Linked DNA regions of Homo sapiens: regions 2, 3, 4, 5 and 6 are each linked to region 1. Evidence: promoter capture Hi-C in human tissues and cell types (Jung and others, 2019). All regions are on one chromosome and are shown on one strand. The core of a region is centred on a gene start or on the middle of the fragment in contact, and the rest is flanking DNA. Distances in the headings are between cores, read along the strand shown. Region 1 holds the start of CRYBB2 (crystallin beta B2). Region 2 overlaps GRK3 (G protein-coupled receptor kinase 3). Region 3 overlaps GRK3 (G protein-coupled receptor kinase 3). Region 4 overlaps GRK3 (G protein-coupled receptor kinase 3). Region 5 has its middle 18 kb from the start of GRK3. Region 6 has its middle 36 kb from the start of GRK3.

Region 1 (4,357 bases), core at 1,042-3,541:
GCTCTTGTTGCCTAGGTTGGAGTGCAATGCCATGATCTTGGCTCACTGCATCCTCTGCCTCGTGGGTTCAAGTGATTCTCCTGCCTCAGCCTCCCGAGTAGCTGGGATTACAGGCATGTGCCACCATGCCCGGCTAATTTTGTATTTTTAGTAGAGACGGGGTTTCTCCATGTTGCTCAGGCAGGTCTCGAGCTCCCAACCTCAGGTGATCCGCCTGGCTTGGCTTCCCAAAGTGCTGGGATTACAGGCGTGAGCCGCTGTGCCCGGCCAGCCCTGGGATTTTAAAACAAGTACCTACTATGCGTCAGGCACTGGGCTCTGGAGATACCATGGTAAACCAGGGGGACAACTTCTTTGCTTTTGTGGTGCTTATCTTCTCATTGGAAAGACAGAAAATAAATGAGTAACAGAATGTTGGGTAGTGATGAGTGCTGCAAAAGGAAAAGCCCAGCTAGGGGGCTGGGGCATGTGTGTGTAGTGTGTGTGCATGCGTGTGCATGCATATGTGCATTAAGAAAATGAGAGACAGGGGAAAGCAGGTATACTTGACCCAGTCTCCAAGCCTCAGATTGGATCAAGACACAGCCTGGGCTGCAAGGAAGGTGTGTGCACTAAAGAAACATGAGTAAAGGCCGGGCGCGGTGGCTCACGCCTGTAATCCCAGCACTTTGGGAGGCCGAGACGGGCGGATAATGAGGTCAGGAGATCGAGACCATCCTGGCTAACACAGTGAAACACCGTCTCTACTAAAAATACAAAAAATTAGCCGGGCGTGTTGGCGGGCGCCTGTAGTCCCAGCTACTAGGGAGGCTGAAGGAGGAGAATGGTGTGAACACGGGAGGCAGAGCTTGCAGTGAGCTGAGATCGTGCCACTGCACTCCAGCCTGGGCGACAGAGCGAGACTCCATCTCAAAAAAAAAAAAAATAGAAAAGAAATGTGAGTAAAGGCTGGGCACCCATGTGGCAGCGATGGGGCCAGTGGTAGGGATCTAAGAGCAACTCACTCTAGGACAGTGGTTAAGAAACAGGCCGGGTGCAGTGGCTCATGCCTGGAATCCCAGCACTTTAGGAGGCCAAGGTGGATGGATTGCCTGAGCTCAGGAGTTTGAGACCACCCTGGGCAACATGTCAAAACCCTGTCTCTAACAAGATACAGCAAAAAAAAGAATTTAGCTGGACCTGGTGGCGCACACCTGTAGTCCCAGCTACTGGTGAGGCTGAGGCAGGAGAATCGCTTGAACCTGGGAGGCAGAGGTTGCAGTGAGCCGAGATCACACCACTGCACTCCAGCCTGGGTGACAGAGTGAGATTCCATCTCAAAAGAAAGAAAGAGAAAGAAAGAAAGAGAGAGAGAGAGGGGGAGAGAGAGAGAGAGAGAGAGAGAGAGGGGAGAGAGAGAGAGAGAGAGAGAGAGAGAGAGAGAGAGAGAGAGAAGAAAGAAAGAAAGAAAGAAAGAAAGAAAGAAAGAAAGAAAGAAAGAAAGAAAGAAAGAGAAAGAAAGAAAGAAAGAAAAGAAAGAGAAACAGCCAGGGGCCTTGAGAATAAAATGCACTCTCCATAATTGGCCTCCCTGGCCCTGCAACATCAGGCCCTGCCCACCTTGGCCACCTGGCACAGGCCCTATTTGTCACATGTCATGCTTTAGCTTTGTTAACCTGTTTTCAGGTCTTCTTGAAATACACCATGCTGGTTCCTTGTATATGGACCCTTTCTGCTTGGAACTGTCCCCCCACCCTGTTCCCAGGCTTCCTCTTCTCCATCCCTGAGGGATGCGCTACCTCCCAGGAGCTTTTCTGAATGGCCTGGGCTGGCGTAGGTCCTCTTCCTGACACTCCCCTGGAACAGAGATTGTCACCAAGTGGATGCCCAACAAATATTTGTTGAATGAATAAATGGGTAGATGAATGAAGCCCAGACTCTGCCAAACCACCCTTCTTTACTTGTTCTTCCCCAGGCCCACTGAGATGTTCCTCTGTCTGCCATGCCTCACGGCCTGACTGACCGTACCAGTGAACCCAGCGTACCCCTGGCCCTGGCAGCCGGACGGCTGATGCATGCAAAGCGGGCATCTCCTTGCCCAGCCGCCTGACCGCCCTGGCGCGGCCGAATCTGAAAGCTAATGACATTATTGTGCAGAGACACAATGTCTGTGGGCATTTGCTGACCCGAGCTTTGGTGAGAGCTTAATCCAGCATTCTCACCCTGCTTTTCGCAGGAGCACAGCGGTCACTCATCTTGGCACCGGCACTTCTGGGGAAGGTATAAATGCCACCTCCCGCTGGCCGAGCTTCACGGCACTCGCAGGGGCTGGTGTCACTGGTAAGATTGCCTCTCTTGCTTGTCTTCCCTTCTTTCTCTCATCCTCACCCCTGTCCGCAAGCATGGGAGCACCCAGATTCTGACAAGTGACTTTGGGCAGAGACTTCAATGCTGTTAGCCTCAGTTTTCTTTTCTGGTAACTGGGAAGGGGGTTAAAAAGCCTTCTTTATTGTAAGGATTCAAGAGAAGTTAGGGGATCATCCAGCACAGTGCCTGGCACACAGTGGGCATTGGGGCAATGTTCTTTATTATTAATATTAAACAGACTATCAGCATCCTTGTTTCGCCAGTCGCTGAGGAGGAGAATGTAACTGAGGGTTTTGCAAGAATCAAACCAGTGACAGTTCAGCATTGTTTCTAGGTGGGTGAGTCAGTTTTCCTCCACATCTGCAATTAGGGGGCACCCACTCTGTGCCTAGCCTCTGGGAGTGCTAGGGGATAGGATGCAGCCACAGGTATGTGACAGGTCCCAGCAACAGGTGATTTCAATGCCACTAAAGCATGGTAGAAATGACTCTAATAATGCCACAATTGCTGCCATTTGCTGCATGCTGAGTGTGTTCTGGGACCACGGCCAAGTGCTTCCGGTTTTATACATTACATAATTGAATCCTCACAACCTGTTCACAGGTATTATTAGACATCATTACTGTCCCCATTTTATAGAACAGGAAGTTGAGGCATAGGGAGAGGATGAGACCTGCCCAGAGTCTCAATTCTGGCAGGCAGCAGAGACTGCTCCTGAACTGGACCAACTGAGCTTCTTCAGTCTGTGAACACTCAGGACTGGGAAGTGATATGGCAGGACCTCAGGCACTCTGACAAGCCCAGAGGGCTGGTTTCTTGCGGGAGAGCAGTAGATTTGGCTGCCAAGGTGCTTAACTGCATTTCTTCCTCCTGGGAAACATCCAGTATTGGCCTTTCATGTGGAAGGGGCTTCTGGAAGCTGGCGTTATCTCTGAAGAGGGAGGCCAGGCTTCCTCTCTTACCCCTGGGGAAACACAGCCTGGTTTGACCACCCCTTCTGCAGGAAGGGGGAAGAGGCTGACAATTTTCCAGGCTTTTCTGATGTTCTCACTAGCTAAGGCAGGTCTACCCTGCTGCCTGCCACAGTGCCTGGATTTCTACCGTCGCACCCATTTCTTCTCTTTCTTGTAATGTGGGTTCTGTATCAGATGATTTCACTAATGGGGGAGTAAAACCAGTGGCAGAGAAGAGAAATCTAGGTACCAGGATGGGGAGAGGAGTCCCAGGGAGAGGGTGGGAGAAGGAGCAGGGGAACAGGGAACTTTGTGAGTTCCTAAACTGGGCACCACCACACCACCAAATACAGCCAATGCATAGGTTTTGTTTGTTCCACACAATTTTATTTAAGAAATTACTGCATAAAGGCAGAAGTTCTGGGATTGACCATTCTATATTCTGTGTGGTATCCATTGTCTGGGGTTGAGTGTTGGGAACCCACTTTGGACCTCATTTAAGCTCTAGTTTATTACTGCTCTCTTTCTTTGAGTAGACCTCGTTTTTCCCTCCTCCTGCAGCTGGCCTGGATAGAAATAAATGAAGCTAAGGACAGAAGTTGAAGTAGCTGCTTACGGACCCCACAGCTCTGGGACAGTCTGAAACCAGGAGAAAAAGAGAATGTTTGGGGCCAGAGGGGAGTGGTCTCAAGGCCCCACAGAGTGAAAAAGCCAGTGGCCCCTCCAGGTCCTCACTGCTGCTTCCCATGTCTTCCAGGTCATTCCTGCACAGGACAGTCCACCATGGCCTCAGATCACCAGACCCAGGCGGGCAAGCCACAGTCCCTCAACCCCAAGGTGGGTACCTCTCAGAGGAGGGGGCATGCAATGCTCCTCCCCCAGACTTAGTTGCCCTTCTGTAAAATGGGCTTGGCATCTTTCTTCATGGGTACCCCCTCTCGACCCCTGCCCCTCTCTGGGACTCAGTCTCCTCTACCCACACAGTTGGAGCTGATACTGAAAGTCCCTCCCCAGCCCATAGCTGGCATGCTGGGATTCCCAGTACCAGCCTCTGGCTT
Region 2 (4,357 bases), core at 1,385-3,884, 460 kb after region 1:
TGTTGTCTCTTGTCAGCACAGGAGTAAGTATTCAATTTCCAGCATTTCTTTTAAAAATGTTTTGTTTGTTTCATAGCAGGATGATTTATTATTTTTCCTTCTAGCTGATTGCAAGGCCAGTGAGTTCTTGGGTGGGTTAGAATCTGATAGTATCTCTTTATTTGATTTTGCAAGTTAGAAGAACACCAGCCACCTCCATTATGCACACCCATGGCTTCTCCGTTTAGTGCCTATTTATTTGTCCTTGACTTCCTTCTTTGCAGAATATGGTAGTAGAGATGGCAGAAAATAATGATAGCCAGAAAAATCACTGGAATATAGTCAAGACCTGACTAAACGACTGGCAAGAAGGACTAACCTAGAGGGGAAAAGTAAGAGAAAAGTGGCTTCTGTCCTTCAGAAGCGAATCGAGAGAAGCGACTTGGATTACTCACATCCGAATTGTCCTTTTGAGATTGTCCCTAGTCAGCGTTTCACTGGAAGGTGATCTTACCTGCCTCTCACTACCTGCTACTCTGTTTATCAGCCTTTCCATTTCTAGCACCATATTTCTACTTATTGGACACTTTCTTTGTATATTAAGCTATCATTTTTAGCTCAACATGTGTGACCCCACTTTTACCCTACATCTTCTTTACTTACTAAATAGCTGCCCATTCCAATTTCTTTTTCTGTTAATGGTATTACCCAAGATCAAAACCTCAGCTTTTATGTGTCTGTACAGATGCCAGTGTATGTGAAGACACATCCAAAAAACCCGTCCTCTCAGTACCCTGTTACAGCGTGTGTGCACTGGTATGGCTGTGACCTGGTGTTCAGAGTGGGTTAGGGAGTCAGGACAGAGAGGGAGAGGCATGGGGTGAGCGTGGAGGGGCCAGACACTAACTAACTGTGTACCCCACATGTGAATGAAACCGTAGATACTCCAGCCAGGAAGGTTTATATTCAGTGAGAAATGTGCGAGACTTCTAGATCCCATGGCTGGATTTTAAGTAAGGTCTTCACCAAAAGGATCTGAAAAAACCAAATTTTAGTGGGTAATGAAAGAATCCCTTTCAACTGCTGAGCAAGTAACCTGAGACCTAGAGAGGTTAATTTCCTTCCCCAAATCTCTAGACTTTTTGGCCAGTGCTCCTTTTATCATCACTTTATAGGCTGTATGTTTTTTCGTTTGTCACCTGTATTTATTGTATTATGGTTTATATTATTCTGTCATTAAAGTGTTTCTGGAAGAGGTATTTGCTATTGAAGCAAAAGAATAGCATAATGTAGCTAAGTTACAACAAATGGAAACCCCATAGCCATAAATAATTTCTAATTATGTGCCTTGACCTCCCACTGTATGGGCATTAAGCATTTCAAATAAGAGTTGCTTTGTGTGTGTGACCAAGTTTTTAACTGATGAGAATGGAAACCAAGCATCCTGCATACTCTGTTGGAGTCAGTGTGAATGGCATTGGCTTTTAATTTCTATTGGAAATGTCTGTATCCTAAATTTCAAACGTGGATGTGAGTACTGGATGAAGATTTTAAGTGGTTATTAAAATATTAATTTTCAGTGAGTTATCTCAAAGCCTTGGATATTTATTCTCAAGAAAGCCTATAGAAAATAAACGTTTTAATGTTGGAAAAACATAAGTATAGTTTTCATGTAATATTTTTATATTGATTTGACTCAGGTGAGAGGAGATGTGGTTAAGTGGTTGTGTAGTTTCTCACTGGTGTAACCCTAAAAGAGTAAATTAAAAAATTAGGGTTATTTTGGGCTATCACTTTGAACTAATTTAAAAGAATTATTTGTATTTTATTTAGATATCAAAACTGTATGGTATTTTTAAAATTTATAAATGCATAATTTAACAAAAATAATTATAGTAAAGTTATTTGGAATTGTTTTTGCTAATCAGGGGATACTTTCTATAGTTTTTAATAAAACTTAGTTGAAAATACCCTCATTAAGTGAAGCTTTTGATCAGACTGTATCGGCAGGCTTTCCCGTATTGTGGACATGTAACTGAAATGCATTCACTCACCACAGTTTTCTTTTTACTGGAAGGTTTTTTTTTTTTTTTAATCTCAACTTGAGTATTCCTACCCATCTCCCCAAAAGACAGTAGGAAGTACTGTTCCCGGTTTTCTTCTGTAATTCTCAGATGGCAAAAAAGGAAATATGCATGTTGGAGAACCAGCATAAGCGTGTCCACAGCTGTGAAGAGCAGTCAGCAATTCATCCAGTCAGTCATTTAAGTTCCTCAGAAGCGTGACTCATTTATTCCCTGAACCACAGTTGAGGATTTAGGTTGAACCAGGCACTCTGCGGCAAGCTGGGACTGTGGTCCCAGTTCTTAGTTCTCATACAGCTGCATGGAAAGGGAAAAGATGTATTATTCAAATGATGACGGAAATGTATGGACAACTGGGACCTGTGGCAAGAGCTATGGAAGACAGGCACACAGTGCTCGGAAGGCCTTTCGCAGGGTGGAGATGGGGTCAGCGAATGCCTTTCTGAAGTTGGGGGTTACCTGGAGAGGAGCCAGTGCACGTGGCTCCTCTGAGCCCAGGCACGTGAGGTTGGGGGAATCAGATGAGGGGCCAGGGTCTGCGGTGGTGGGGGGAGTCGTGCAAGACAAAGCTGGAGAGAGACATGAAGGCCAGGCCAGACCGTGAAGGGCATCGCCGGCCGATCTTGAGGAGCCTAAATGATCTGACTGCAGTTAGAAACCAAGTGTTTTAACTAGAGAGAGACCATAATCAGCCTTGCAGTTCACAAAGATTGCTCCGGCTGCAGTGTGGAGGATTTTCTTCAACAACGACTTCATGGTCCTGTTTTATCACAGTTTTTTTATGGCGAGTTCCTGCAAAATGTAAGCTATTTTGTTGACTTTTAGTAGGAAATCAAAGTAGACAGTTCCTTGCTCAAGAGTTTTACTTAATGGTCTACTTCTAAAAATCCACTTTTATTCTGACTTGTAATCAAGGCAGGCCGTCTTATCCATAATTATCCTTGGAACTGTATCCCACCCTTCATTAAATTGCCACTTATTTTTTCATATTGGTCAGTATTCGGTTGTGTCCTGGACTCCACATGAAACCCATTATAGTGTCTGTTCAGCACCCCGAGAGGTGAGGGTTGCAGTAACTGATTTCTGTAGAGATAACCACATCTGATTCCTTCACCTGCGTGTTTATTTTACATCGAGTCAAAGATAAATATAGTTGGACTTTAGTTAAAGCATTTATTTGGTAATTAAAACAGCATTTATTTGGTAATGACTAGACAGTAAGAGAAATAATGGAGCTCCATTCTGACTTGTGCAGAGGTGACCGGATGTTTTAAAGGGACAGTGGCCTGTGGAGTGCAATGCGGGCTGGAGCAGAGTCAAGGAAGTGAAGAATTTTACAATGCAGGAAGGGGCATGGTCCATATGGGACCCATCTGGGTTTGCTAACTGGGACTTATCCAAGTTAGACTCCTACCCTCCCATGGAGGCTCGGAGATAGGGGCTCTATCTTTGAGTGTTTGCTGGAACAAATAAAAATTCTTTGGGAAGCCTTGATTTCTCTGAGGCAGTCATTTTAAGGGGGGCTGAGCCTCCTAGGGATGTGGTCTTGAGCTGTTAGCTTTAACAATGCAAATTCTGTTTACAGATTATGTTGAAATTTGAACATTTTCTTTGGAATTTAATAATTTTTTGTGTTCGTTAAGAAACAAGATATAGACAATCTAGGCCATTTTAAAAACTGAATCAGTTTAGTGACAAGTATACACTTTATGTAAAGAATCTAAGTGGATTTCATAGATAAAATAGATCTAAATAGAGCTAATAGATCTAGCATAGCACTGATGAATTTTCATAAGGGAATACACGCATCTCCGGCACCCAGATCAAGAGACGGAAAGTTACCAGTATTCTAGAAATCTCTTTGTGCCTCTCCCAGTCACTAACCCTGCACCCAACTTAACTACTACCCAGATTTCTAACAGCATATTTTAGCTTTGCAAATTGTGTTTGAACTTTATAAATGTGCCCTTCTGTGTTTGGCTTCTCTCACTCCATGTTGCTTACAAGATTCATCTGTGGTGTTGCCCACGGCTGTAACTCCCTCCTGTAGCTGTGCAGCAGAGGTCAGAAAGCCAGGTGTGGCTCAGGCCAAGTCTAGCTTGTTGGCCTTATTTTATAGAGCCCATTACCTAAGAATGGTTTTTACATTTTTAAAGGATTGTAAAGAAAATAAGCAAAGAATAATAGATGACAGAGATTATATGCGGCCTGCAAGGCCTAAAATATTTACTTTTTAGCCCTTTGCAGAAAACATTTGCTGATCCATGATCTATATGGCATTCTAGTGTATAAAT
Region 3 (4,357 bases), core at 1,027-3,526, 400 kb after region 1:
CCTGGGATCCTCCTAGTTTATTTTCCTTCTCTGAAAGACCGCAACCCTTTCCATGTCTGAAAACAGTTATTTCATAGAACTTTTCTCTCTAGCTTCCTGGCTGGTCATGGTGAGAGATTAAGTCTGGTCCTTATTATTGTATTATGCCCTTGAAGTATAATTTCATTTTTGAAATATTTGGCTCTTGGTGAGAAAATTTGATAAATACTTGAAACTGAGACTCCCTGTAAAATCCTAGACATATAGCGCCTTTGTTATAACTTCATGGTGCAACACAAACATGATGGTTGGCTTCCAGGTTACCCATAACAGCACAGGTAAGTCTAAGAAGCTTTAGAAAAGGCTGTATCCATACAGTTTGGGTCATGATAACAGTTAATGAGCCCCTTGGTGCTCAGTGCTCTACATACGTGATCTCATTTAGTCTTCAGAATGACCCTGTGCAGATCATTCTTGGCCCCCTTTTACAGGCAAGGAGCCGAGCCTCAGAGGTGAAGGGATTTGCCTGGTGTCTTGCACATAGTGATGGGCTGAGGTGGAGTCTACCACACTCCAAGCTAAAGCTTTTGACCACTATACTAAGCTGAGTAAGGAGTTTTTGTTGTCGTTGTTTTCGATAAAGGGTCTTGCTCTGTTGCCCAAGCTGGAGTTTAGTGGCGTGATCATAGCTCACTGCTGCCTCGAACTCCTGGACTCATGTGATCTTCCCATCTCAGCCTCCAGGGTAGCTAGGACTACAGGTGCACACGATCATACCTGGCTAGTTTTTTTTTTTTTTTTTTTTTTTTGTAGAGATAGGATCTGGCTGTTGCCCAGGCTGGTTTCGAACTCCTGGCTTCAAGTGATCCTCCTACCCTAGCCTCCCAAAATGCTGGGATTATGAGCCACTGAGCCAGACCAAACTAAGTATTTGAAATGTCTTAAGGGGCAGCAGCAGGTTAGGTGGTGCTGGAACATCTATGAAGTGGTTGGTTTCTTCCTGAGGTAGCTACTTGTTGCCAGGAGAAAGCATTATGATTCATTTCTCACAGAAAGTGGTTCCCTCTCCCCCTTCTCTCTTCCTTTACTCTCTCCTGCTCCTCACATTCCTTCCTTTACTCTTCCTTTCCTTTGTCTTTTTTGTGTGTGTGTGTGTGTGTGTGTGTGTGTGTGTGTGTGTGTGTGTGTGTGTGGTTTTAAGGAGTGGAGAGTTTAATAGGCAAGAAGGAAGGGAGAAGGAAGAAGCTCCCCTGTACAGAGACAGAGGGAGGGGCGCTTCAAAGCCAAGAGAGGGAACCCCAAATGGGGCGGAAACCAGCCAGGTGTATATATAGAGAGGCTGGAGAAGGCAGTGTCTGTTTTGCACAGGGCTCGGGATTGGTTTGACCAGGCCTGTCTTTCACATAGCCCGCGAAAAAGCTGGCCCTCCCACCCTAGCCTTTTAATATGCAAATGCAGGGCACCATGATGTTCTGCACACGTGGGGATATGTGAGGGCCATTAGGTTGCCAGGAACATGTTGGGCAAGGGCAAGAAGTCCCGCAGGGATTGTGGGGATTGTCGTGTTGGGTGGACCTAGTTTCTAATTGCCTGCATTTGCATATCAAAGGTTGCCAGCCCGGCTCTAAGAGCAGGGGCTTTACAAGAAGCTTTTCCCAAGAGGCTTTAAAAAATGAAAACTTCCCAAAACTTTTCCTCCTTGTCTGCCTAAAATACTTTCTTAATAACTCCTACAACATTCCTCCCAGTGGAGACGCCCCACTAGCTGCTGTTAGGAGGTTTTGGGCGACAACTCTTTCTGGCTACTTCCTGCAGAAAAGGGGTGTTGAATGGGGAACAGCAGCTAGGCCTCCTCCTGGAGTCCATCTAAGGGTCCTCAGAAGAATGGCGTGTCCTTGTGTGGTTCAGTTGACAGCACCGTTTGGAGTTTGATTGCTGCTAGGCAAGAAGAAACAATTTGAGTTGTAGTATTGAGTATACAGAGTCCAAATATCAATACAAGACATATCAGTAAGAGGGGGCTTAATAAAGGGGTTAACGAATTCCATCAAGAAGACTGGAATTTATTAAAGAGGGATTGTAGCCACTCGGGACTGAAGCCAGCATTTTCCTTGAGCCTGTCAATAATTTTGATTTGATCTTTAAGTACCTGTAGATTTTCCTTTACTATACTAGAGGTGTTCATCCAAAAGCAGCATGTTTCATTTAAAAGTGCGTCACTAGACCCAATAAAAAGTCCTAGCAGACTTAGTGATAGTAAAACTTTCATGCTTCCTTTTTGTTAGTAACTATTATCCCTGCTATAGAGATAGTAGAGTGAGGACAGCAATTCCCACAAGTGTGGTGTGGTAGGTAATTTCCATCTAAAATTTTACTTGCCAACATATAGAATTCCCCTTTGGGGGTCTGTGAAGTTCCTTGGTTTTATTTTCCCAAACAAAGAAACCTCTGGGTTATGGGCACCTTACTCACTTTCATTACCTGGCAGAATTTGCAAGATAATTGCCCAGAACTAGTATATTGATTCACATGTTTACGTTACCCATCCCTATTTTTTCTTTTTTTCAAGCTGCAGAAGATCACCATTTGATTCACAGGAATAGGCAGAGTTAGTCTAAAATGTAGGCAAAAAGCTTAAAAACAATTAGTGAGACTAGGATTTAATGACAAATATATGATAACCTTTGGAGCAAAATTTTTCTCTCCAGTCCTCATTTTTGGTAAAAACTAATTATGAATAAACTTTAGTCTTATACTTGGCCTGATTATTTGCATAAAGGGCAGCAAGAATGGTTATTTTTACATGGACCTTTTGGATTAGCTTTGATGAAACTCTATTCCACAAGGAATCTTAGACAAGACCCTTAAAGTTGAGCCCAGCCATGGGTTTGTATCCTCAAATACCTGTGAGTTGGGTGATCCTCTCCTCTTGAGGTCCCAAGATAAACTGGGAGCTCCCAGACCTGTTAGAAAGTGACATTCTTTACTGACCACAGGTTAGGAACCCTGTGCAGAGACTATAGACAAGGTATGGGGCCAGTTCTCCCCAAGGGGCTTTTATTGGCTCTACATGTTAAGCTTGATTCCTTAAAGGGAAACACACTGTTTCAGTTAAAGCCTTGGTAAAATAACCAGTTTTTCCAACTGTGTCCTGTTGGCATCCTTTGCCTTTTTTTTCTTTAAACCCCTCCTCTCTTTGTCAAAATAGCAATAAGATCCCCAGCAGAAGAGAATGAAATCAAAACTGACCCCACTTGAATTCATGAAACCACAGAATGTTAGGCCTAAGTGAAACCTCAGAGTCTATGCATTCCAGCCCCTTCATTTGATTGATGACGAAACTAAGGAACACTGGCAGAGAAGTGAGTTGGTAGAACCATGCAGCTTGTCGGTGTGCAGCAGGTCCTGGAATGCAGGGAACACTGACCTTGGGCGGGATGCGGGGATCAGCTCCCTCAGCGTCTGAGGGTATCAGCCAGATCATAGCGTTTGCTGTGCAGTGGGATCGTGAAGAGCCAGGACCTGAAGGAGACCGAGTAGCGCTTACATAGGTTAGTTGTTTAGGGGACATTTCTTTGAGGATGTGATCAGGGGATCATGTGGAGCAGCGTCGTCATCAGCCAGGGCAAGAGGGAGTGCAGTGTGTTTCAGAAACTGCCAGAAGGCCCACGCAGGCAGCTCCTGATGAGAGAAAAGAGGGGAGGCAGGGAACTGCGCAGGAGCCAGGGTTTTGAGTGTGATGGGAAGCTCTGGTGGGTCTTGACCAGGCCCGATGTATGTTTTAAGATCATTCTAGCCTCTTTATGAAGAATGAATTGCTGGGATCAGAGTGGGAGCATGGAAACAGGAAGAAGAATCTGGAGACCCCTGTCGCATTTAGGAAGTCGCCAAAGGTGGCTTTTGTTAGAGTAAGAGCAGCAGAGATGTAAGAATGGGTGGCCTGGGACATATTCTGGAGCCAGAACTGAATAGGGAAGAGAAGACTCAAGGAGTAGTTCAATGCCATAGTTTGGGGGTAAGTGTATACATAGTTTCTGTAATTTAGGGGAATAAATACATTCTATAAAGCATATTTTCTTTTGTTTTTGTTTTTTGAGATAGGGTCTCACTCTGTCACCCAGGCTGGAGGGCGGTGGCGCGATCTTGGCTCACTGCAACCTTTGCCTCCCGGGGTCAAGTGATTCTCCAGCCTCAGTCTCCTGAGTAGCTGAAAACACAGGTGTGTGCCACCACATGTGGCTAATTTTTGTATTTTTTGTAGAGACGGGGTATCTCCATGTTGTCCAGGCTGGTCTCATACTCCTGACCTCAAAGCAATCTGCCTGCCTCAGCCTCCCAAAGGGCTGGATTATGGGTGTGAGCCACCATGCCCGGCCAT
Region 4 (4,357 bases), core at 511-3,010, 360 kb after region 1:
AGTTTTTATTCTCAGAGAGCAAGCTTTTTTCTTTATTTAGAGATTCTTGGAAATGGCTCTGTAATACTCATCATCTTATTTTAGAAGAAGGAAATTCAGGTTCAGGGAGAAGCTAATTGCTCAAGGTCGCGCTGATAACAAATGGTGCAGCTGAGCTTCAAATCCAGGTTTTCTGATTCCAAATTCAGCGTATTTTCAGAAAAACCTTCAGACTGTCTTTTTCCTGGTGAATCTTATTTTATGAGGAGGGGGCTCATGGATTTGACTAGAGGAGCACTGTCAATTTCAGACGTTAGTGACACAATTTGAAAATGCATTGTATTCATTCAGTAAAGATTATCCACTGCAGGGGTCTGAGGAAGTGCTCCAGTAGCATAATTTCACTGGCCATGTTAACTTAATAATAAATACATTAATAATTTCCTAGAAGAAAAGATGTCATAGATTCCATGTTAACTAATAAGATTGTTATTAATAATGATGGCAGTGTTATAACTTGAGAAACCAACTAAGCTACATGTCATGAGTTCTTAATGTTTTCTTACCCCAAACATCTTTTTGTGATTTTAGGTGCATTCTTAATTAAAATTCATCTCCATGCCTGCCAGTTGGTAAATGAGTATCCTTGACTTGAACACGTTTGTCAGTTACTCTAGATACAATAAAGGATTTTTTTTTTTTTTGAGACAGTCTCGCTCTCTTGCCCAGGCTGGAGTGCAGCGGTGTGATCTCGGCTCACTGTAACCTCCGCCTCCCAGGTTCAACTGATTCTCCTGCCTCAGCCTCCTGAGTAGCTGGGACTACAGATGTGCACCACCATGCCTGGCTAATATTTTTCTACTTTTTGTAGAGACAGGGTTTTGCCACATTGCCCAGGCTGGTCTCGAACTCCTGGCCTCAAGTGATTCAACTGCCTCAGCCTCCCAAAGTGTTGGGATTACAGGCATGAGCCACCGTGCCTGGCCCGTAAAGGATTTTTAATGTTAAACTTGGCACTCATTAGCAGTTCATTCTAAATTGTGATGGAAAATTAATGGAGCGGGTTGCATATCTAACCCCTACCCAGAAAGGTTGTTGAGCTCAGCTTGGGACAGAGTTGTATTTGTCAGGAGCACATTAGTAAATCCACTTATGGCTTTTGCCTTCTTCACCTAGTAATGCACGTGGAGCTTTTCCTCGTCAGCAGTATATAGATCTGTTCAGTGTTTGGAATTGCTGCATGAGATGTCAGAACTCTGATCTACTTGACCCTGTGCTCATAAGCCCAAGAGCAATTGCAGTGAATGTTCTTACATAGGTGCCTTTGGGTCTATGTGTGAGCCTTTCTCTAAGATAGACACCTAGAAATAAGTAAGATATGGGCATAGTCTACTCTACGTAGAGCTGCAAAGAAATTCTAATTTTATTCAGAAGCTTTACTGTTAAGAGTAATATTATTTTTAGTTTGAAATTATTTCATATAAACAATTATTTCATATATATATTTGGGTAAAACAAAAAAGAATAATGTCATTTTTGGTTAGAACCAAGAATTTAAGTGTAAATGAAGAGATACATGAGTACAAGATAAGAGTTAAATAAAAATTCTGTAAGATCAAATTTGAATTGGAAGGTTATTTGAAATTCATGATTTTTTTTTCAAATATGTGTGCTTATCATCCCCAGTCTTTAAAAAAATCGAAGAAACAATTGCATTTCCATCACATAGGCACCTCATACACCTGCGCCTGACTCCAGGTGTGGGTGAGATGAGCCTGGACCCTCTGTTACCTGTTGTATCAGAAAAAAAAGGAGCCATCCAAGAAATGTGGTGGGCACCTTCGCTAACAAACTCTGAGGCCAGAAGAAGGGGTTTCCACTGGCTAAAAGTGAGACACCCTGAACATCAAAAGAATATGACTGATACAAACCCCCTGTGGTGGGCAGAATGATGCCCCCCTGAAATATCCACATCTTAATCCCCAGAACCTATGAACATGTTATGTTATATGACAAGGGGGCGTTAGGGGTGTAGGTGGCATCATAGCAGCTAAGGTGCTGAGTTTAAGATAAAGAGATTATCCTGGATTATCTAGGTGGGCCCTAGTGTTACCGCCAGGGAGGCGGAGAGTTGGTGTCAGAGCGATGCAACATGAGAATGAGTCAACCAACCACTGCTGGCCTTTTGAGGAAGGAGGAAGGGGCCATGGACCGAGGAATGTGGGCAGCCTGTAGAATCTGGAAAAGGCAAGGAAATGGCCTGTCCCTTACAGCCTCCATGTGAGACCGCAGTCCTACTGACACTCTGACCGACCTCAGCCCAGGGAGGCCCATTTCAGACCTCTGACCTGCAGATCTGTAAGAGAGTCAATTTCTGCTTGATTTAAGCCACCAAGTTTGTGGTAATTTATTATGGCTGCAATAACAAACTAATAACAAAGCATGAGTTTGTGGATATCTCATGCTATCCACAAGAGATCCCCAAACAAGACAGAAGAGAACACCTCATTGATCACCACCAGCAGTAGAACCAAGGCACCTACTCTGTCTCTGAATAGTGGCAATTGAAAAGGTAAAGAATTAAGCATTTATCCTGCCTTTCCTGTAAAAACTGCTTCTTAGGGTATTTAGAACCCTAGTTGATGGTTGGGGTGGCAGGACAGGAATTCTTTTTTTTTTTTTCTTTGTGACACGCTCTCGCTCTGTCACCCAGGCTGGAGTACAGTAGTGGTGTGATCACAGCTCACTTCAGGCTCAACCTCCTGGGCTCAACTGATCCTCCCACATAGCTGGGACTAAGGGCACATGCTACCATGCCTGGCTAATTTTTTTTTTTTTGGTAGATATGGGGTTTCGCCATGTTGCCAAGGCTGGTCGAGAATTCTTGGGCTCAATGATCTGTTCACCTCAGCCTCTCAAAAAGTTGGGATTGCAGGCTTGAGCCTCTGTGCCCGACCAATGAATGAGGGGACTTCTTTTTTTATTTTTATTATTTTTTTTTTGAGATGGTGTCTCACTCTGTCCCCCAGGCTGGAGTGTAGTGGCATGATCTCAGCTCACTTCAAGCTCCATCTCCCGGGTTCACGGCATTCTCCTGCCTCAGCCTCCTGAGTAGCTGGGACTACAGGCACCCACCACCACACCCGGCTAATTTTTTGTATTTTTAGTAGAGACGTGGTTTCACCGCGTTAGCCAGGATGGTCTCGATCTCCTGACCTCGTGATCTGCCCGCCTCAGCCTCCCAAAGTGCTGGGATTATAGGAGTGGGCCACCGAGCCTGGCCGAGGGGACTTCTTTACAGAAGAATGGCAGCAAATTAATGTGGAAGGAATGGCGAAATTTTAAAAAAATCCCCATTTTGCAATTCTTAATGAAAATATTGATTTAGGCAAAGATCATCAATGTATGATATCGCTAAATGAAAGATTGATGGGGAATTTCAGATGGAGAGATCAGACTATCACCAACTGAATTTTCTAAGTAAAATTTGCATCACTAGGATGAAATAACTGTGTACCCCCTAATGTGAGGCAATATAAGTACCAAAACCATCTCAAAAGTATTCCTGCCCCCAAATGGTGGACTTGAATATGATCAAGCCTTTTGAGGTAACTTTCAGTTTATAGGAAATATGGAGAGAGAGGAACAGTGAAAGACCTTATAGGGAAGCAACAGACAGAAAGGGCATCCCCCATGATGGCTTCCTCGGCTTCCTCAGGGGGTCACTGCAGATAAAGGTCAGGGGTGGGGACAGTCAGGTACTCTCCCTGTCTGCCTTAAATCCCAGAAGAGATTTAAGAGATGGCGCTATCAGATGAATGTGTGGATCTTGGTTAGATCCAGATTGAAACCCACCAGCTATACAAAAGACACTTGAGTCATGGAAATGTGGTTAGAGACTGGGCATTGGATCTTCAGGAATTATCAATTTGAAGGGGGAGTTGGGAAGTGATAATAGACTGTGTTTATATGAGAAAATTATCCATAATTTTTAGAAATGCAAACTGAAATAGGCTAAAACGACATGTGGTCTGAGATTTGTTATTGATTGATTGATTGATTGGGATGGAGTTTTGCTCTTGTTGCCCAGGCTGGAGTGCAACGGCACAATCTCGGCTCACTGCAACCTCCGCCTCCTGAGTTCAAGCAATTCTCCTGCCTCAGCCTCCCAACTAGCTGGGATTACAGGCGACTGCCACCATGCCCACAGCTAATTTTTTGTATTTAGTAGAGGCGGGGTTTCACCATGTTGGCCTGGATGGTCTTGAACTCCTGACCTCAGGTGATCCTCAGATGAGCCACTGTGCCTGGCTGAGATTTGTTTTAAAATGCTTTAAAAAATAAAGGTGGGATAAGTCGAGTGGAGTGGCTCATGCCT
Region 5 (4,357 bases), core at 912-3,411, 330 kb after region 1:
AAAACCTCAAAGCAGAAATTCAAAAGAATGAAGCTCAAGGCAGCTGTATCTTGTTTCTGTTTTGCTTTGAGAGTCAGAATATGCGATCAAAATCTATCTTCCCCTTCCTTATCCTTCATTTTTTTCCCCAGCAGATAAGAAAAAAAATAGTGGTGCTTCTTTTAGGACTTAATTCTCAGAAGGCTAATATCATACACAGTTGGAGCTTCAGAAAACTGCTCTGGAAATTGATATGCACACAACCTGTTCTTGATGAGCTGAAAGAAGCATGAATGTTGAAACGGAGCTGAAAAGGCAGTGGTAGGATGGCAAGGGAGACTGTGATATTTTTTTCTTCCATTTTTCCTTTTCAATATTGTAACATTTTCTTATTGTAGATGAACAAATTTCTACAAACCTGGTACCTGGTACCACCACGCTGCTGTTGTTACTGTTTAAGGTGTCTCCTGTGTCTGTTTTCTCTCGGTGTTACTTGTTCATATTTTCTGGTTTATTTGGTTGATTTAATCCATGTTGTCACGATTTGAAGGGTTTTTTGTTTGTTTGTTTTTGTTTTGTTTTGTTTTGAGACAGGGTCCTGCTCTGTCACACAGGCTGGGGCGCAGTGGTGCCAGCTCAGCTCATTGCAACCTCTGCCTCCTGGCCTCAGGCCATCCTCACACCTCAGCCTCCTAAATAGCTGGGACTACAGGTGCACACCACTACATCTGGCTATTTTTGTTTTTTGTATTTTTTGTAGAGACAGGGTTTCATCAAGTTGGCCAGGCTGGTCTCAAACTCCTGGGCTTAAGCCATCTGCCTGCTTTGGCTTCCCCAAAGTGTTGGGATTACAGGCGTGAGCCACCACACCCAGCAGAGGAGTTCTTAAATTCTGGTTTTTATGCTGGATACTGGATGGGAAAAGAGGAGACAGACACATTTTATTGAGGAGCCGTAGTCCAGAAACAGTAAATATTTACTTGACAAGTGATTTATTCCCTTTCATGCCATGATTAAAGTTTAACTTTCATTGAACAATTGCTCCATTTATATAGATGAAAATAAATAATTGGGAACATATGTGACAGCCCTTTCACTGGTCTCCCCACGATCTCTCTGGCCCTCCAGTAACCCATTATGTTCACAGCAGTCTTTCTGAAAAAACAAAACAAAAAAAAAAACAAAAAACAAATCATGCCCCAGTGCCTGCTTAACACATTCAATGGCTCCCTTTTGTCCTCAGAATTCAGCCCACACTTCCTATCCAAACTTTGAGAACTTGCAGAGTCTAGCTCTTTATTGATACCTCCAGTTGAATCTCATTTCTGCTATCTTTGAAGAGAGGGATAGCGGTTTGGGTGCGGGGTCAGAAACTAGGTGTGTCGGTGAGAGATTAGTCCGGGAAGCAGAGCCACACGGTGGTATGTTTGGAATAAGAACTGTGTTACAGGAATCAGATGATACACGCTTGTAGGAGAAGCTGGGGAAGAAGGTCCACTGAGAGCACTGAGGATCACTAACAAGGGCTGGTGCAAGTGAATGAGTCAGGAGCTTGTAGGGAAGTCCGAAGCTTGGTGTATTGAGCTGGTGCACAGGCACCAGGAAAGGGGCTGATCTAGAAGTCTATGGAATGTATTAGTTCTCCACGGTGACTGCCTCTGTGAATCTGCCGCTAAGGGTCTGAGGGTGGGCTTGCCATCACTGCTGGTCAGCAGGGTCGGGGAGAGCTAGATACAGAGCAGGGAAGATGGAGGACAAACTGGAAGCTGCTGGCCCCTCTGTGTCTGGCCACCCCTCACTGCTTCTAACCAATGATGACCTTCAGAGTGTAACGGCTGCTGCTTCCCATGAGCCTCCCTGGTCTTGCACAACCTCATTTTGGGGCAACTCTAACCTAGGAACATACAGGAAAAGGAGGTCTGAGAAATGTGGTTCCCAGCATAACCAAGTTGTCAACAGAATAATCCGGTAGATGTAGTCTCTGTACTCAAAGAACAGGAAAAAAGAGCAGAGAGGCCAAAAGAGGGTACTGGGGCAGTTTTGCTGTGTGATGAGTGATGTCATCCCTCCCTTCATATCTCCACCTCATCTTCAATAAAATCCACAGCCCTTGGCCATACTGTTTAAGTTGGATTTATTTCTTCCACTTTCCTCCCTTCCTCCTCCCTCCATCCCTTCCTCCTCCCATCCTCTCCCCCTCTCTTCCTTCCCTCCCTTCTCCCTTCTAGATGTCCTGGGTCTGGTCTGAACTTGGCACGGGGAAGAACAAGGCCTGCAAAGGTGGTCCAAACACATACAGTTTCCACTTTACTGAAAGGAGACATGGGTTTCCAATGTTGAGAAATCATAATCTAGCCAACCCTCTTTTTTATGTTAACTTCGTCTCCTTTCTATGAATGAGGCAATGCAGAAGTACAAAAAAAAAAAAAAAAAAAAAGCAGGGTAGTGGGGAAGGAAAGATTCTGTCTCCCTCCCAGGGAGAAGGTGATGAAAAGGGAGAAGCTAGTGCCTCTGCACCAGCTGAACGCAACAAGCTTCCAGACTTCCCTGCAAGGATCCCTCCCAGCCCTACTTACTCTTTGTTTCACAGTCAAAAAGCAGAAGTCCAAAGAGGTGAAGCACTTTGCTCCAAATCACACAGCACTCATTTTGGCCTAGAAACGGGCCTATTAGGAGTGACTCATCTCTTAAAAGGCCACACTCTCCAAGCCTGTTCTCTAAAGTGCTTACATCTACCCGGGGGGTCAGAGAGTGTCTTCACCTAAAACAATTTGCATTGATCATTGTGGTCGCAATTTCCATTTCTACATTAAAGTGGGGAAAGTGAGGCTAATTCTTAAGCTGTTGTTGGCAGAGCTTCTTATGGGGAGGTTATATCTTGGTTGGGGCCACCACAGATCAGGGGCTGACCTCTGTTGTAGAAACTCAACTCTATAGTTCACTTGGGTGAAGTCAATTTATTAATTTACCTTTGTAGTGACTGGAATGCTTGTGGATACATTTTTGGGCTCAGGGACTCTGGAAGTCTTTGACCATGGCCCATGGTAAGAAGTACATTTTATTTAATACAAAGCAGTGGAATACACACACACACACACACACACACACACACACACACACACACACACATCTGAAACAAATATTTCACTTAACGATGCTTAAAACTGACTGTGTATGACTCACTCTGATGATTTTTATTCCATTCTATTTCACTTCATTATGTAAAAATGCTGCTAGCATCCATGTAAATGTATTCCATGACCTACCGATTGGCCTTGAGTCCCAGCATAAAAAACACTAAGCTAGGGCCTCTCTTCTTGCAATCGAAGGATCTCAGAAGGAAGCAAAATTGAATTTAATCATCATAAAGTTGTTGTTATACCTCGAGTCAGAGTGGAGAGTGTGAGAGCAGCTTGAGGGTGAATTGAGTAACAGTGTGATAGGTCTGCGTGAGTTAAACCTGCTCTCTTGCAGGGCTCACTTTTCTAGCGACTGTCATGCTCAGTTTGCTAAGGAGTGTTCACTGCTCCCATTTACTGAGTCCTTATGGCGTGCTCAGTGATGGAGAGTAACAGGAAACATGAAAGAGGTCTGACAATATGGTAGGAATGAGTAGATTGATGTGAGTGAAGGAAAACACTCCTCTGCAGAGTCATGCCCAGGGACAAGCACAGTGAAAACCAAGTTGTTTTAAAACCAGCTGGTGTCTGTGATATGGAGGTATGTGGAAGGAAAACCCTGTCATTCATGTCATCGTGGTCACAGAACATGATATAATTTGTATGTCCGGAAGAACACAGCAAGAGGTTTTTTTTTTTGCTTTTTTTTTTTTTTTTTTTACTACTAAGGGCCATTCAGGTCCTAAACATGGAAGTTCAAGGCACCAAACCTCCAGTGTTATCATTACAAGAATATGGGAAGAAGCACTAGCTACTTGGGAAGATCGCTTGAATCCAGAAAGCTGAGGCTGCAGTGAGATGTGATCATGCCTCTACATGCCAGCCTGGGCAACAGAGTAAGACCCAGTCTCTAAAAGAGGGAGAAGGAGGGAGGGAGACAGAGAGAGAACTAGATGTGCAGATCTCAAAGGGTCCTAGGTGGAACACTGTGAGGAGAATCTTGCATGGAAGGAAGAGAGAGAGCAGAGGAATGAGAGACTTTGTGTTGCATTGGAGAACTCCAGGCAGGGTGCAAGCTGTGCATCTCCATCTGCCTCTGATCAAGTTTGTGTAGATTAGATAATAACTCATATAGATGTAGATAATAACTCACATAGGTATAGATAATAATTCACATAGTTGCATACCCATGTTGCCTCACTGATCAACATCATTGTGTGGAAGAAATCTTGGGCTGGGAAATGATAGACGGCCTCTCT
Region 6 (4,357 bases), core at 1,294-3,793, 310 kb after region 1:
AAATACCATAGACTGGGAGGCTCAAATAACAGAAACTTATTTCTCACAGATCTGGAGGCTGGGAAGTCCAAGGTCAAGGTGCCAGCAGACTCAGTTCCCCAGTGAGGGCTCTCTTCCTGTCTTGCAGGTGTCCACCTTCTTACTGTGTCCTATGGCAGAGAGAGAGAGACTGAGAGAGAGAGAGGGATAGGAAGAGAGAGAGAGAGAGAGAGAAAGAGAGAGAGAGAGAGAGTGCACATTGCCCTGGTCTCTTCATCTTCTTAGAAGAACACGGATCCCATCATGGGAACCTGGCCCCCATGACTTCATCTAAACCTAATTACTTCCCAAATGTTCCCATTTCCAAAAACATCACATTGGGGGTTACAGCTTTAACATGAATTTTAGGGAGACAGAAACATTCGGTCCATAATACATGCCCTGTGATATACCCCCATAAAATAAATACACTGAGTGGCTGTTGGGTTTGTCTTCAGGTGGAAGGGTCTGATCCTCTGAGCTTCCAGATAGGGTTCTTGAATGATCCACACCACATCTGCTTCAGTGTTGTCCAAGAAGCTGGCACAAAAGTACAGACTCTCAGGCCCCACCCTGGACATTTCAAGTTAGGGTCTCTGGGGCTGGGGCCAGGAATCTGCATTTTGAACCAGTCCTTCCTTCTCCCACTTGCCTGCCCAGAAGATTCTAGCAGCTCCCAAAGCTTGAGAACCACTGCTCTGTACCTCTGCATCCTCTGGAGATTTTCCAAAACTCGTGTGTCTTCTTAAATCAGTTGTTTTTATAATGACTATGACACATAAAGCCATGTGATATAACAAAGGCTGAGCTGGATGCAGAAAGGGCCTTCTGACTACAGCAGGCTTTGGAATGTGGATTTAATGAGCTACTACTTTGGTGAGTAGAGAAAGGGGGAATAAAATCCCAGTGGGTCAGGATTTTTAAAATTGAATTTCTGTTGGAAAGGATAGGGAGAGAAGGGCATTGCTTCCCTAAAAACTAAAATCCTTTCTTTTCTTTTTTCTTATTTGTTTTTTTTTTTTTGATGGAGTCTTGCTCTGTCACCCAGGCTGGAGTGCAGTGGTGCAACCTCGGCTCACTGCAACCTCTGCCTCCCAGGTTCAAGCAATTCTCCTGCCTCAGCCTCCTGAGTAGCTGGGATTACAGGCACCCGCCACCACACCCGGCTAAGTTTTGTATTTTTAGTAGAGTCGGGTTTCACCATGTTGGTCAGGCTGGTCTTGAACTCCTGACCTCATGATCCGCCCACCTCAGCCTCCCAAAGTGCTAGGATTACAGGCATGAGTCACTGCGCTCAGCCAAAGCCCTTTCTTGATCATATAAATGACTCTAGTGTCTTCGTGCTTGGTGACTGCTTTCTGTACCCTGCTACAGATGATGCTGCCTGTTTGTGAAACAGGACTGATACAACTCTTCTGGAAGGAACTCTTTAATATCTAAATATCAAAACTGTTAATCATTATTATTAGTAATTCATTATTAATATGTTAATAGCTCAAGTACTACAATTAACTATTCAACTATTCAGCCCTAGTTTTCCTTTTTTAAATTTATTTTTCCAATAGCAGTGTTGTTTGAATGCCAACTTCAGATTTTAGTCTCCTTTCGACTTAGGTGATTGTGAATCTATAAATTCTTAACAAGAAGCAAATGTGTAGAATCTGTAATGCTTAGATTTTGTTATTGGAGCTATAGAAAATGTTACATTTATGGTGTCAGACTCTATTTAGCTGGTAAGGACAAAGCAAGAGCTAAGGCCAATTACTTGTCATCATCATCATCATCATCATCGTCATATTTCTGGAGCATTCACTATTTACCGGGCACTGAGCCAACATTGTATATTCATCATAGCATTTGGTTCTCATAGCAGCTCTATGAGGTTTGTGCCCACATTATCCCCATTTTGCAGATAAAAAAGCCAAGCCCCAGAAAGGTTAAGTAAATTATTCAAGGTCCACAGCCAGTGTGTGGCAGAACCAGATTCTGAAATCAGGCAGTCCAATTCCAGAGTTCCAATTCCTAACCATTGTGCTATTCAGTCTAATGAAAGGAGCGAAAGATTCAAGGTAGACAACTGTATATTGTCAAAGGCATGTTCAACACCAGGGTTGCTTGTTTCTAAATAATGTTCAAGTCCATGAACAGCTTTTTGCTAATGTTTGGAGCAACTGATAAAATATATCAAGCAAAGAAAAGTGTGGACACATCCATGCACACTGGAGAAGTAGCAGAGTGGTTTAATTTTGTGTTGGAGAATCAAAGGCCAGAATGAAAAGGCACTTTTTACATCCCAAAGGAAAATTCCCATTCAGAAAGACATTGATGGCTTTTTTAGCGGCATCCATTCATCTGCTCTGCAAAGGCATGGGGTCATGTGATTTTGAGAGTACTGACTCTACTCCCAATGCATGGCAGTCATGTATAATAATTTAGGGGACAGTGATTCCATTCACAGTTCCAGAGGTAAACCCCCCTCCAATTGACTAAACCCAATCAGAAAATCCTACTCTTGCATAGGATTGTTTCAGAGATAGGCACAAATCTCATCCTAAGCCAATCAGAGCACGGCACTTCCGTCGGCCATGGTGATTGATTCAGAGATGGGCATGTGACTGGTTTGCTCAGTTAGAGTGAAACCTAGGATTTTGTTTGGTAATTGAGATAAAGACACTTTTCTTCAGGAAGATGTGGTGTACGGAACTGTTCCAGACATTTTGTCACCATGATAAAAGTGAGTCTGAAAAGTAAACCATCATGTTCAGGAAGGCAAAATCAACAGAACTGCAGAGCAATGGAGTCAGCACCCTGATCAAGCCATTCCTGAAACTAGTGTTGACCCATTTTTATTTACATGAATCAATAAATTCCTTTCACTGTTCACATTATTTTAAGCTGGGGTTCTGTTTCTTTCAACTAAAAGCATTCTAGTTGGTACATCAAGCATTATGCTTGTCATTTAAATACAAGTAGGTTCTAATGGGGAGATCTGCTCTCATTGTGAGAACACCTTAAAATGGACTCAGCACTTGGGATCAATCTTTAAAAACAAACAAATTAAGTCTAACTACACACTATGTTAATGAGAAATGGGTGTTTTACTCAAAGTGTTATGGAAACACTGGGGAGAGAATTTACATGACATATGAAAAAGCAAAACTTAATAAGATTCCTCATCACCCATCCCCATAGGACTTCTGTGATGACACCTCTTTTGCCTTTCCTTTTCCTTTTGCTTTTCTCCCTGAACCTTCTAGCGTCTCCTTAGTCACTGCACTCTCATCCTCTATTAATGTTCTGCGTGCTGCAACATGCAAAGAAATAAAACAACGGCATCAGTTTAAAAAAAAAAAAAAGGAGGGCCTCTGTCCCTCTAGCCTGTTCCCAATCCCAACCCAAGGATCTTCCCAGAGAGTAGTTCAGCTGCTGAGTAATATTTCCATATGGTTATCTACTGTGTTCTAGAAATACACAAGGAATGCTCTTGGGCTCTTGTGCGATCCTCTCATCTTTGCAGCCACTCCCACAAGAAAGAGGACAAATCATTACCTCATTAAGTGAAACTTGAGCTTTACCCAGCTCCAACTCCCTCCCTTGGGGAATTTGGAAGAGAGAAATCACAAAGCTGATTGAATGTGGTAGACTTACTTTCTGAGTGATGTTAAGAATAACACATCTTTCTATAACCATCTAAAACTATCTTGGGATTCAAATCCTTTCAAGTCAGACAACCTCTTCCAGTTCAAACATTGCCCATGGTTAGCCATTAAATTATTCAGGAATAAAGAAGGCTCTATGGTTTCTCACTGTGTGCCAGGAATTGTGCTGGGTGCTCAGAGCCCAAAGCTCAGTGAGACACAGGCACTCATATTTGGTAGTAAGAAGTGGGTATGTAGTTTTCTTTTCTTGTGATGTCTTTATCTGGCTTTGGTATCAGAGTAATGCGACCTCGTACAATGAGTTAGGAAGTGTTCCCTCCTCTTCTATTTTTTTTTTTTAACTAGAGTTTGGGAAGGATTTGTGTTCATTCTTCTTTAAATATTTGGTAGAATTTACCAGTCATCTAGTCCTGGGATTTCCTTCTTGAGAGCTTTTTGATTATGCTTTAATCTCTTACCTTGTTATAAGCCTATTCAGATTTTCTATTTCTTTTTGAGTCAGTTTGGTAGTTTGTGTGTTTCTAGGAATTTGTCCATTTCATATAGATGAATTTATTGGTGTACAACACTTCTTAGTAAGAAGTGGGTATACAAACTCATCTCTGCTGTATAAGATAAATACTAAAATAAAGCTTGACAACAGTGTAACAGAAGCCTGAAGAAAGGAAGGCTTAGTTGTG

Evidence for each region. The method cuts DNA at HindIII sites, captures the fragments that hold promoters and counts their contacts. A contact is called where the count stands out against the background at its distance.
Region 2: a contact is called between a fragment that was not itself captured here and the fragment with the promoter of CRYBB2 in region 1, in 2 of the 25 tissues and cell types used here (mesendoderm cells and thymus).
Region 3: a fragment that was not itself captured here is called in contact with the fragment with the promoter of CRYBB2 in region 1 in 4 of the 25 tissues and cell types used here (dorsolateral prefrontal cortex, hippocampus, mesenchymal stem cells and 1 more).
Region 4: a contact is called between a fragment that was not itself captured here and the fragment with the promoter of CRYBB2 in region 1, in 3 of the 25 tissues and cell types used here (dorsolateral prefrontal cortex, liver and mesendoderm cells).
Region 5: a fragment that was not itself captured here is called in contact with the fragment with the promoter of CRYBB2 in region 1 in 1 of the 25 tissues and cell types used here (dorsolateral prefrontal cortex).
Region 6: a fragment that was not itself captured here is called in contact with the fragment with the promoter of CRYBB2 in region 1 in 1 of the 25 tissues and cell types used here (mesendoderm cells).

The regions. Positions count from the first base shown.
Region 1 is chr22:25,217,348-25,221,704 of GRCh38, forward strand. It overlaps CRYBB2 (crystallin beta B2), which reads left to right and starts at 2,292. Exons shown (of 6, transcript NM_000496.3): 1 at 2,292-2,319; 2 at 4,057-4,136. The coding sequence starts at 4,083. The HindIII fragment of the contact is 11,576 bases long and covers 1-4,357 here.
Region 2 is chr22:25,678,893-25,683,249 of GRCh38, forward strand. GRK3 (G protein-coupled receptor kinase 3) reads left to right here. Exons shown (of 21, transcript NM_005160.4): 9 at 1-23. Among named protein-coding and RNA genes, the nearest start is that of MYO18B, 61 kb to the right of the region's middle. The HindIII fragment of the contact is 4,338 bases long and covers 466-4,357 here.
Region 3 is chr22:25,618,887-25,623,243 of GRCh38, forward strand. All of the region lies in intron 2 of GRK3 (G protein-coupled receptor kinase 3), which reads left to right. Among named protein-coding and RNA genes, the nearest start is that of GRK3-AS1, 56 kb to the left of the region's middle. RefSeq lists an enhancer at 994-1,780. The HindIII fragment of the contact is 3,659 bases long and covers 448-4,106 here.
Region 4 is chr22:25,576,510-25,580,866 of GRCh38, forward strand. All of the region lies in intron 1 of GRK3 (G protein-coupled receptor kinase 3), which reads left to right. Among named protein-coding and RNA genes, the nearest start is that of GRK3-AS1, 13 kb to the left of the region's middle. The HindIII fragment of the contact is 6,370 bases long and covers 1-4,357 here.
Region 5 is chr22:25,544,344-25,548,700 of GRCh38, forward strand. No RefSeq gene overlaps it. Among named protein-coding and RNA genes, the nearest start is that of GRK3, 18 kb to the right of the region's middle. The HindIII fragment of the contact is 3,110 bases long and covers 607-3,716 here.
Region 6 is chr22:25,526,445-25,530,801 of GRCh38, forward strand. No RefSeq gene overlaps it. Among named protein-coding and RNA genes, the nearest start is that of GRK3, 36 kb to the right of the region's middle. The HindIII fragment of the contact is 4,655 bases long and covers 217-4,357 here.